3 separate regions of the Homo sapiens genome follow, and all the other regions are linked to region 2. Evidence: promoter capture Hi-C in 16 types of primary human blood cells and fetal thymus (Javierre and others, 2016). All regions are on one chromosome and are shown on one strand. Each heading gives the region's core, a stretch centred on a gene start or on the middle of the fragment in contact. The rest is flanking DNA. Distances are from core to core; before and after follow the strand shown.

Region 1 (3,332 bases), core at 120-2,619, 66 kb before region 2:
TTGACACTGTAGTTATTCCACAGATCACTATAGTCATTTGGTTATTGGCCTTCTCTCCACCAGCAGGTAGTGGGGTCCCTAATGGCCAGAGCTTGCTCTTTCTACTCTAAAAGTGCTGCACGTGCCACTGTCGTACACAGTGTGGCTCTTCCACCCAACGACCACCTCTCTTTCATTCATACAAACAAAACACCCCTTTTATTTAGGAAGGGTAATTCTGAATTATGATTCATCTCAGACAATCATGAAAATCAGATTCTTACTCTCTAAATATCTGTTTTCTCTGTTTCCCTAGCAGGTGTAGAGAAGTTTACTGGGGGTACTAGAAAGGACTGAAAAAAATCTTCTTCCCTGATAAGAGAACAACTGTTCATTTTTCCACTCAGCCTTTAACTTCTGCTTCCTTCCTTGCGGTAAAAGATAATGTCGTTTGAAGCAGGGATAATGGGATCAAGAGGTGACAAGCTTAAGGACAAAACCCAAAATGGTAGAGCAGAGAGGCAGAAAGGCTCTACGTCTCTATGGCTTTGTAAAGCTAGTGCAGCAAAACCAGAACAACTGACCTACATGCTTCTGTTATACAAGATCATCAGTTTTCACCTAGTCAGTATCAATCAGGTACTGTTACTTTCAGCCAAAAGCATTACTAATACAGCTATCAATAGTATCATTGCTGGCACATAATAAATGTTTGACTATTTATTCAGATATAACTATCTAATTGAGTTTCATCTACTTGAGTAGTTAGAAAACACACAAAAGTTCTTGTTATCTCATTGCCACCATTTTCTCTCCCTTTATTCAAAATTTCAGGGGCCAGGCACAGTGGTTCACACCTGTAATCTCAGCACTTTGGGAGGCCAAGGCCTGAGGATCACTTGAGCCCAGGAATCCGAGCCCAGCCTGGGCAACAAAGTGAGACCCTGTCTCTACAAAAAAGTAAAAATTATTTAAAAATTAGCCAGTTGCAGTGGTACATGCCAGTAGTCCCAGCTACTCAGTGGGAGGGGAATGAAACTGGAGGATCACTTGAGCCTGGGAGGTCAAGGCTGCAGTGAGCCATGATTGTACCACTGCACTCTAGCCTGAGCAACAGAGCGAGACCCTGTCTAAAAAAAAAAAATTCACCTAAGTTACAGGGAAGAGCCAATTCCTAACTTCAATGAATGCTAACACTTTTAGCTTACTAACTAAATTATTTTTTAAATAACAGGGAAAATTGTTCAGAAGAAATTACACTTGCAGTAACAAAGAGAAAAAAATTTTTAATGTTCAGCATTAAGTGAGCCCTGCTTTAAAAGGTAGTTTATAAATTACAAAATAGCCAATAGTTTATCCTAAATGAAGTAACTGGGCTATATCAGAAACCACATAAAAACCTGCAGTTCTTCAGTTCTCTACCTGCATCCACCCAGTTCTCTACCACCTGTGCCTACTACACAGATCCCCAAATCTGTGTAAATTATAATTTCCATAGGTTTGTGACTCATTTTGAGTATTCAAGACCAATGCTATAAAACTATATCCAGACCTATATAGTCGGTAAAATTTTCCAGGAATCAAAACCAAACAAAGTCACAAAAATATATCATTTGCGCAATAAATTTTCCCACTGTGTTCTCAAATCAATCACTACCCAGGCACACGAACCTTAAAGATAATACATCTACAAAAATAGGCTTTCAATGATGGAGGTGGAAAGGCAATAAAAACCTCTACATGCCTCTATTTTACTTTTGAAAAACTGCTTCTAACAAATTATAAACTTATATTTCCATTCAAAGACAATTATGCTCAGTGAAGCCCCTTAGGGCCTGAAGGTTTCTAAAGGCTATTCCATTTCTAATTTAGATCTTTCCACTGTTCCTGTCAGAAATGAAGGCTCTCTCTTGGCTCGCAGACCTTGGAAATCTTTGCAGGGGAAGCTCCCAAGCTACTGGCAGAATTATTTTCAACTTCTGGCCTTGCTAATGTCACTTATTAGTTTAACATGACAACTTCTCATCTTTCACCTCTGACTCAGTGAGAAGAACCCAAGACGTCTGTCTGGAAGTGCCTCATTTCAAATGCACCCTAGAAGCTGCATTAGGAACTCACTGAAATGCCTGGCGCAGCTGTGTTACTATCACCATCTCCTGCTCTGCCCCCTCCCTCCCCTCCTCCTCTTCTTCCACCTGGAACTTGGCCAGTTTTTCAAAGCCAGGGACACACCCTTTATCTCATGGAATCTTCATGACAAATCTATCAACTCATGACAAATCTATCAAGCTTACAGGGTAGGCGTTATCTCTCTGTTAGAGAAGAGAAAAATGCAGTCAAATTTGAAAAGTCAAATCAATAGGAACAAAAAAAGGGCTCTGGTTTCCCCACTGTCCCACACTGAGCATTAAACTGTAACGTTTCACTTACAGAACATAACTCTATCAGGCTTTATTAGGCTGGTCCTGACCCCAGCTTTGGAAACCATCTGGGATCTCTTCTGTTACTTTCCAGTATTATCACTGTACGGCGTTGTCAGTCTCAAATTCTATCAGCTCAGATTTATTCTCTGAAGGTAGAATCATTAAACCAATTCTACCAAACTTGACTTAGTAATCTATCAAAAACAGAAACGTATATGTCTATAAGAAATAGAATACAGCATTTTCATGCTTTCATAAACAAAAGCAAACAAATAATATTAATGTTGCAGGGAGGAGAAGAGTATAGAAGTCTTTCCAAAATTTATTTACAGTATTTAATTCAAAGTATACCAATTGAGCGTGGTGGCTCACGTCTGTAATCCCAGCACTTTGGGAGGCTGAGGCGGCAGATCACTTGAGGTCAGGAGTTCGAGACCAGCCTGGCCAACATGGTGAAACCCCTTCTCTATTAATAATACAAAAATAAGCTGGGTGTGTTGGTGCGTGCCTATAATCCCAGCTACTAAGGAGGCTGAGGCACAAGAATCGCTTGAACCCAGGAGGCGGAGGTTGCGGTGAGCTAAGGGTGCACCACTGCACTCCAGCCTAGGCAACAGAGTGAAACTGCTTCTCAAAAAAAAAAAAAAAAAAAAAAAAAAAAAGGATATTGTAAATGTTAAAGAGTTAAATGTAAGAATTTAAACTATAAAGATCCTAGAAGAAAACCTAGGAAAAAGTCTTCTAAGACATTGGTCCAGGCAAATAATTTATGACTAAGTCTTCAAAAGCAAACGCAACAAAAATAAAAATTGACAAGTGGGATCTAATTAAACTAAAGAGCTTCTGCACAGCAAAAGAAACTATCAATAGAGTAAACAGACAACCTATAGAATGGGAGAAACTATTTGCAAACTATGCACGCAACAAAGG
Region 2 (3,339 bases), core at 765-3,264:
AGACTGCACATCTCTTTCAAATGCATTATCTATCTAAAAGTGAGCCCAGCCAGAATTTATCAGACACAATTTATCATAATTCAGCAATTGTGTGTAGATCCCCTACTATGTGCCAACATAGAGCAAACCTGCTATCCCTGAGTCTGCTTGTTTTTGGAGAGCCTGCAAAACTGTATAGAGTTCATATTTTCTGTAACCAAACATTTGCTCTAGAGGTAACTCTACACCTGCAAACACACCCATTTTTTCACAGCACTGCTGTGACTTTTTTGATCCTTTTTTGTATAGGATCAATGACACATCTGTATTAGATTCCAATAATTTAAACATAGGTCTTAAAGTCTGTTGCTTTGTGCATGTCAATTTCTGCAGGCGAACAGCTGACTTCGTTTTCAAGCAACAATACTGTCCGGTGAAAAATATACCTTCCTGAGACAAAAGATACTTTTTGTCCCCATGAAGCTTTGTTGCCTCGTCCAGCAGCAAATGACTCAAAAGACGCGTTCTGCCACCCTCAACAGTCGTTTTCAGGCAAAGAGGAACAGCAAATGAGGTACCAGCAAAAGCTTAAGAAACAAAACCAAGGTGAGTTGAAGGCGGGGAAGAAAGGCGGAGTGGAAGCGAGAAATGCAATCTAAACTCTACTTTGTGATCTAAGAAATTCAGCCTTTACTGATGAATTGGGCAGAGGAAGGGGAGGGTACAAGAAAGGGGAAGATAATATTTTCTGTTACGAAAAAAAAAGTGTGCTGCTGTCCTGGTTTTCTTTCAGTAGCACCCAGAGAATGCATGGCAGGCACAATCTAGTTTCGCGACGAAAACGAATTCCATGAGAATAACACAAGTTTGTATGTGACACAATGGAGATATCCAACCAAACCGAGGAACTATACAATTGCATGACAATTCCTCAAAATTTTAAGTGCCTTCGAGTACCAAAAAAGAAGTTTATGATTATTCACAGGACAGGGTTATCAGTTTAATATCACCATTTTGCAGGATGTGGACCCGTCCTGTCACATCCTCTTTTAAAGAAACCGCTAATAACCTGAAATGCTATTATCCCCTATTTGCCAGGACTGTGGGCCTGATAGTTTCACGGATAAAAACCAAACAGCGACCAGAAGCCAGGAAGTCCCTGGCGAATTCTTTTGAAGCACAACCCCTACAATCCGTGTGCCGGAGCATAAAGATTGAAGTGTGCGCGGTTCCTCCTCCCTCCGGGCCGCGCGTCCGGAACGTTCCTGGCTGTCAGGTGGGTGGCGCGGGCCCCGGCGGGAAGCCCTGCCTGGCAGCCTTGCGTGGCGCGCCGGCGGAGAGGGGCGAGCCCCGCGGAATGCGGCGGGTCCTGAGCCCGACCACCGCTCACCTTTGTTCGCCTGCCCTTGCCGGGAGGAGAGCAGGGCCCAGGAGGAGGGCAGGGGGCGACCCTAACGCTCCGCGGCTCCTCCCCGGCGCCCGGGAGGAAATCCGTGGCAAGCCAGACCCTTTCTGGCTCCCAGAAAGCCAGCGGGGCAGGGGGGTCAGCAACCCCTCCCCGAACACAAAGGTTGGGAGGCGTGAACGCGAGCGTTGGGGGCGCGGGGGCGTGCGCCAGAGAGCGCGCGAGTGTGTGCGCGCGTGTGTGTGCGCAGGGGGAGGGGAGGAGGGGCTTCAGCCCTTCTTACCTCTCGAAGATGAGCCGCACCATGAAGATACAGAAGGCCAGGGGAAAAGCGAGATAGAGGTCCTCAGCCTGCGGGAAGGTGGCCTCCTCCGTGTTCTTCAGGTCCGCCCAGGTGACATTGTGCGGGAGCCAAAACCTCTCGTTCCAGAACCAGGCTAAGATCCCTGCCATCTTGCTTTGTCCACTCCTGTCCTGCGGCACCCGCAGCCCGCCAAGCTCTCCACCGCGCAGGGCGCCCGGGGATGCGCGCCCGGCTGGCCCCGAGCCTGTGCCGCCGCCGCCGCTGCTCCCGCCCGCCGCCGCCGCCTCCTCCGCGGCCGCTGCTCTCGAAGGCTCGCGGCGAGCCCCGGTTCTCTCCTCCCTCTGGCCGCGCTGGGGAAAGGGGCCGCCTTGCCCGTCACATGGCAGCTCGGGCCGCCCGCCCTGATTGGCTCGTCTTCGCGTCAAACAGCGAGGCACACACGCGGCCAACTCGCCCACACCCGCAGGGCAGGGCGCAGTCGCTGCGCCCTGGGCGCAGGGGCACCGCTCCGGGGAGTGTCGCCCGCCCCTGCTCTCACCGCTCTTTCGCTTTGCGCTTAGGGCGACGACCTAAAGTCGACCCCCCAAATCCGCCCTAGCCCCCTGGCTGGCTCGCACATGCTCAGAATGCTGGCTCCTGCCCCGCTGGGGTTTCAGGGCTCTCAGTCCTCTTCCCGTGCGCCCGGAGGCGGTGGGTCAGCAGGTAGGGGCTGCCGCCAAGCTTCAGAACCAGCCCTGCTCCAGGAGGACAGCAAAAAAAAAAAAAGGGGGGGGGAGGGGGAGGGGTAAAGAGCAAAGGAGGAAGTGGGAGGGAAAGGATCCTCCACTCCCGCGCTTGGAGAGGCAGGGTGAAAAATCAGGAACTGAGGCAGGATGGTTTGGCAAGAGCCTTCTGCCTCTGCCCCACGCCTGCCTTTCCCCAATCTTTGACTTTCCGGTCTTTTATACTGCTGCTTCTCATCAAAGTAGCTCCCCCAGGGAACAAGCCCCCCTATATTGATTTATGAGGTGGTACAAAAAATTAGGCACTTAATTGCTATTTGATTATTAATTGCTACTTGATGACGATGATGATGATGATGATGATGATGATAGCAACTGCAGCGTTCTGTAAAACCACCCCTCTCAACTAACCTCTCTGAAAAGGCTGCTAGACCACATTTTGACCTGGCACATCATGAGAACCTCCACTGTGCTACTCGGCAGGCTCATTATTTCTGCCTTTTGAATCTAAAACCTTTAAGGCATTAGGCCTGTGAGGCCTAACCCAGGCACCTTCCCTCCCGCAATGCATTTCCCCATTGATACAGGAGCCATGTGTGAATTCATTCCATGGCCCATGTATACATGGTTCTGGGGCATTTTTGTTCATTTTTCTCACATTCATTTTCTGCCTGGTGCTGCCAGTAGGCTATACTAAACCTTTCCAGTGGGCATATAACCGCACACACACACACACACACACACACAGAGAGAGGGAGTTTCTTTTACTCTTCCCTCCCCTCTTTCCACTCTATCTCTTGAAAGTGAAACTGAAGAATGGCCTATACTGGTGCTTCCAATTTCTCTCCCCTCATTTTCTTTTGAACTTCCATTTGGACATTTGTCTCCTCTGCTGCATTGAAACTGCCCAAGGTCACCTGTGATCTTCA
Region 3 (3,315 bases), core at 537-3,036, 120 kb before region 2:
CATCTAATGCATCAAATCATCTAAAACTCAAGAGAAATTCATGTGGCAGCTTAAGCATCTTCAGTATGTGGCACAGAATTTCTTAGGAGAGAAGGGAGTTTAGAATGGAACATCATCCAATTTAACAAAAATTTACTACCTCAGCAGCTTACTGGATAATGAACTAAAAGACACAAAAGTACTTTATGAACATGGTAACGTTTTCCTTCAAGGTGGTCATATGCAAAGTAGGCTCCATAGGTTGGTTTTACATCCTCAGTATCTTCAAAAGCTACAGACTGACTGAGGGACATAAGAGACTTGCCCTCTCTCTTCCTGTAAACAATGTGGAAATGATTAAAAAAAAAAAAAAAGTTTACTGGTTGATATCAGTTCCACAGCCTGGTCTGACAAATGCCTGCAGCTAATCTGCACCAAATATCTGAGCGAGGGCTCCAAACCTCCCAACGCTGCTTTCAACCTAGTTTCCCATTCCTATAGTGATTCATCACACTGTGAAGTTTCCACCCCACTCCTGGGCTTTTGGACTGGGACATAGTGACTTGTGAGTGACCGCACCCTACTGGCACCTACACCTCTTATTCCCCAGAAACGACAATGTACTTGTGTCCCTCGCCCTCACTATCTGCCACCCACATGCAGATAGGCCAAACAAAGAAATTAATCAATACACCTCCAGAAAATTGTTTCACACTTTCTCCCCACTCCTCAAAATGCTAATACTTCCTCCTCCCTCTTCACTCTCCTCAGATGCCCATTTCCTATTTCACTGGGATGATGGAGACAACCAGGAAAGACTTACCTGACTCTGCCTCCCTATGCCCCTGTCTGGACTTCCCTCCTGTTACCACAAATGAATGCTCCGTGCTCCTCTCTAAGGCAACTCCTGACTGTGCTCCACACCCCAGCGCCTCCTGCCTGGGCAAGGCTCGGCTCTTGCCATTTCTCTCCTCTCAGGCATCATCCATTTTTCCCTCTTTGCTGGATCATTCCCATCAGTATACAAACAAGCCATCATTTTTCCCTTGTTAAAAAAAAATCCTTAACCCCAAATTCCTCCTCTAATGACTATTCTCTTTTTCTGGACCTCTCTTTTATAACAAACCTCTCGAGAGTTCCCACATTGCAACTTCTCTCCTCCATTTTGTCTTAAGACCTTCCACCCAAACTGCTCTTGGCAGACACCGAATGACTTGCATGTTGCTACATGGACTGTGAGTAGTGACACAGCCAACGATGAATGTCTTCTTCTCTTGGCCTCCTCACTCACCTATCTCCTTCACAGCCTCCTTTATCAGCTCCTCCTCAATTCCATAACCTCTCATACGAGGCTGTCTCAAGCCTCCATCCTCAGATGTTTCCTCTACTTACCCTCACTCTCTTTGAGATCTCGCACCGTCTCGAGGCTTTACACACTATCTATTCACCAACAACTGCCAAGTCCACACCTCCTCCCTGAACTGTGCATTCACCTATCCAGCTGCCTACAGCACTCCTCTGCATAGATATCTAATAGATACCTCCAGATTCACATGACCAAAATCAAAATCCTGGACTTCTCCCCAGGTTTGCTCCTCCCTCACGCTTCCTCAACCCACTCAAGGGCAACTCCTTCTGTCTAACTGCCTAGGCTAAAACCCAAGCGTCATTCTTGAATTCTCACTTTCTCTCATACCACACAACCAATCTCCCAGAAGATTCTATTTATCTTCAAAATAAAGTGTAATCTGAGGCCTCCACTCAAACAGTTCATGAAAAACATATGTGTATGTATGTATGTATGTGTGTATAGGTGTGTGTGCACACTTGTACAGAAGGAACAGAAAAAACATCAGAGCAAGTATGGCATCATGTTAACAGTGGTGAATCTGGGTGGGTTTATACAGGATTTCTTTATACTATTCTTCAAACTTCTCTATAAGTTTTCAAAATAAAAAAATTGTTTCAAAACAAAAAAATTAAGAGAACTTTAATGTACAAATCTTGATTGGACTGTATCTGGAAAGAAATAGAAATATAAAAGAAATTGAAGGGAAGATAATGGGGAGAATTTGTCTACTGTGTCCTTCCCCAGTGAAATGTAAACCATATCCCAAGCACTTACAAGACCGCTGGGCATAAAGTAGGCACTCAAAATGTATTTGGGCAGTAAATGAAACAAACACATTGCAAATCAGTCCTAGGTGCTGGGTTCTCAAAAAAGGATAAGACTGGCTCTTTGTCATGAAGGAATTTACAGTCTGCAGATAAAAAAGAAATGTTAAGCAAGAGCATTGGGCTGTTGCCATTACTATTAAAGGGGCACACAAATGAGGGGACCATCAACTCTGCTTGGGAAAAAGAGAATGGGGGTAGGAGGCGTCCTTCATGGAGCAGGGGAGGCCACACAGCTTATGATTTGCTCTCCTCTGATGTCCCTGTCTCCTATTTCACTGGGATGATGGAGACAACCAGGAGAGACTTACCTAACTCTACCTCCCTATGTCCCTGCCTGGACTCCCTTCCTGTTACCACAAATAAACGCTCTGTGCTCCTCTCTAAGGCAACTTCATTAGACACTAAGTACCATTCCTGGCATAGAGTCGTCACCCAGTAAATATCCACGGTTTCCTAAATGAAGGTGAACTGAGTCTTAATGGAGAGGCAGGTATTTGTCACAGTAGGGGAAGGGCATCCCAGGTTGGGGCAGGTGGGCAGAACTTGAGCAAAGGCCAAGGGGTGAGAAGAAGCATGGCAGCCCCACCTGACAGCACAAGCCAGAGAGAAATGGATTGTTATAAATTCTCATAAAATTCTTAGGAAAAGAATAAAAACTTGTTCAAGAAGGGAGTCCACACAGAGAAGGCCCTTCTTTGCTTCAGAGGCAATCACAGTGCTACTATAGTGCTATCACTAGTATAATAGCTAACATTTATTATGTGCTTACAAGGTGATATGGTTTGGCTCTGTGTCCCCACCCAAATCTCATCTCAGAATATAATCCCCACATGTTAAGGGAGGGATCTGGTGGGAGCCAATTGGTTCATGGGGGCAGTTTGCTGATAGTGAGTGAGTTCTCACGAAAGCTGATAGTTTTAAAGAGAGTGAGGAAGTGGCACTTCCTCACTCTCACTCTCCCCTTCCACCATGTAAGACGTGCCTGCCTTGCTTTCCCTTGCCTTCTGCCATGATTGTAAGTTTCCTAAGGCCTCCCAAGCCAAGAGAAACTGTGAGTCAATTAAACCTCCTTTCTTTATAAATTACCTAGTCTCCAGTAATATCTTTATAGCAGTGTGAAAACGGACTAATACATAAGGCACCAGTGCTCTATGTGTT

What was found. Contacts are between HindIII fragments. The CHiCAGO score rates a contact against its expected background, and 5 or more counts as called.
Region 1: a contact is called between a fragment that was not itself captured here and the fragment with the promoter of CERS6 in region 2, in 1 of 17 cell types (non-activated CD4 T cells). The highest score is 5.1, in non-activated CD4 T cells.
Region 3: a contact is called between a fragment that was not itself captured here and the fragment with the promoter of CERS6 in region 2, in 12 of 17 cell types (fetal thymus, non-activated CD4 T cells, activated CD4 T cells and 9 more). The highest score is 11.4, in fetal thymus.

Annotation. Positions count from the first base shown.
Region 1 is chr2:168,520,331-168,523,662 of GRCh38, reverse strand. All of the region lies in intron 1 of CERS6 (ceramide synthase 6), which reads right to left. Among named protein-coding and RNA genes, the nearest start is that of MIR4774, 61 kb to the left of the region's middle. The HindIII fragment of the contact is 1,803 bases long and covers 468-2,270 here.
Region 2 is chr2:168,454,947-168,458,285 of GRCh38, reverse strand. CERS6 (ceramide synthase 6) reads right to left here and starts at 2,014. Exons shown (of 10, transcript NM_203463.3): 1 at 1,668-2,014. The coding sequence starts at 1,837. It overlaps LOC102724081 (a long non-coding RNA gene), which reads left to right. Exons shown (of 4, transcript XR_002959433.2): 1 at 1-1,255. RefSeq lists silencers at 1,323-1,382, 1,833-1,962, 2,083-2,172, 2,203-2,422. The HindIII fragment of the contact is 1,842 bases long and covers 569-2,410 here.
Region 3 is chr2:168,575,211-168,578,525 of GRCh38, reverse strand. All of the region lies in intron 3 of CERS6 (ceramide synthase 6), which reads right to left. Among named protein-coding and RNA genes, the nearest start is that of MIR4774, 6.1 kb to the left of the region's middle. The HindIII fragment of the contact is 3,602 bases long and covers 1-3,315 here.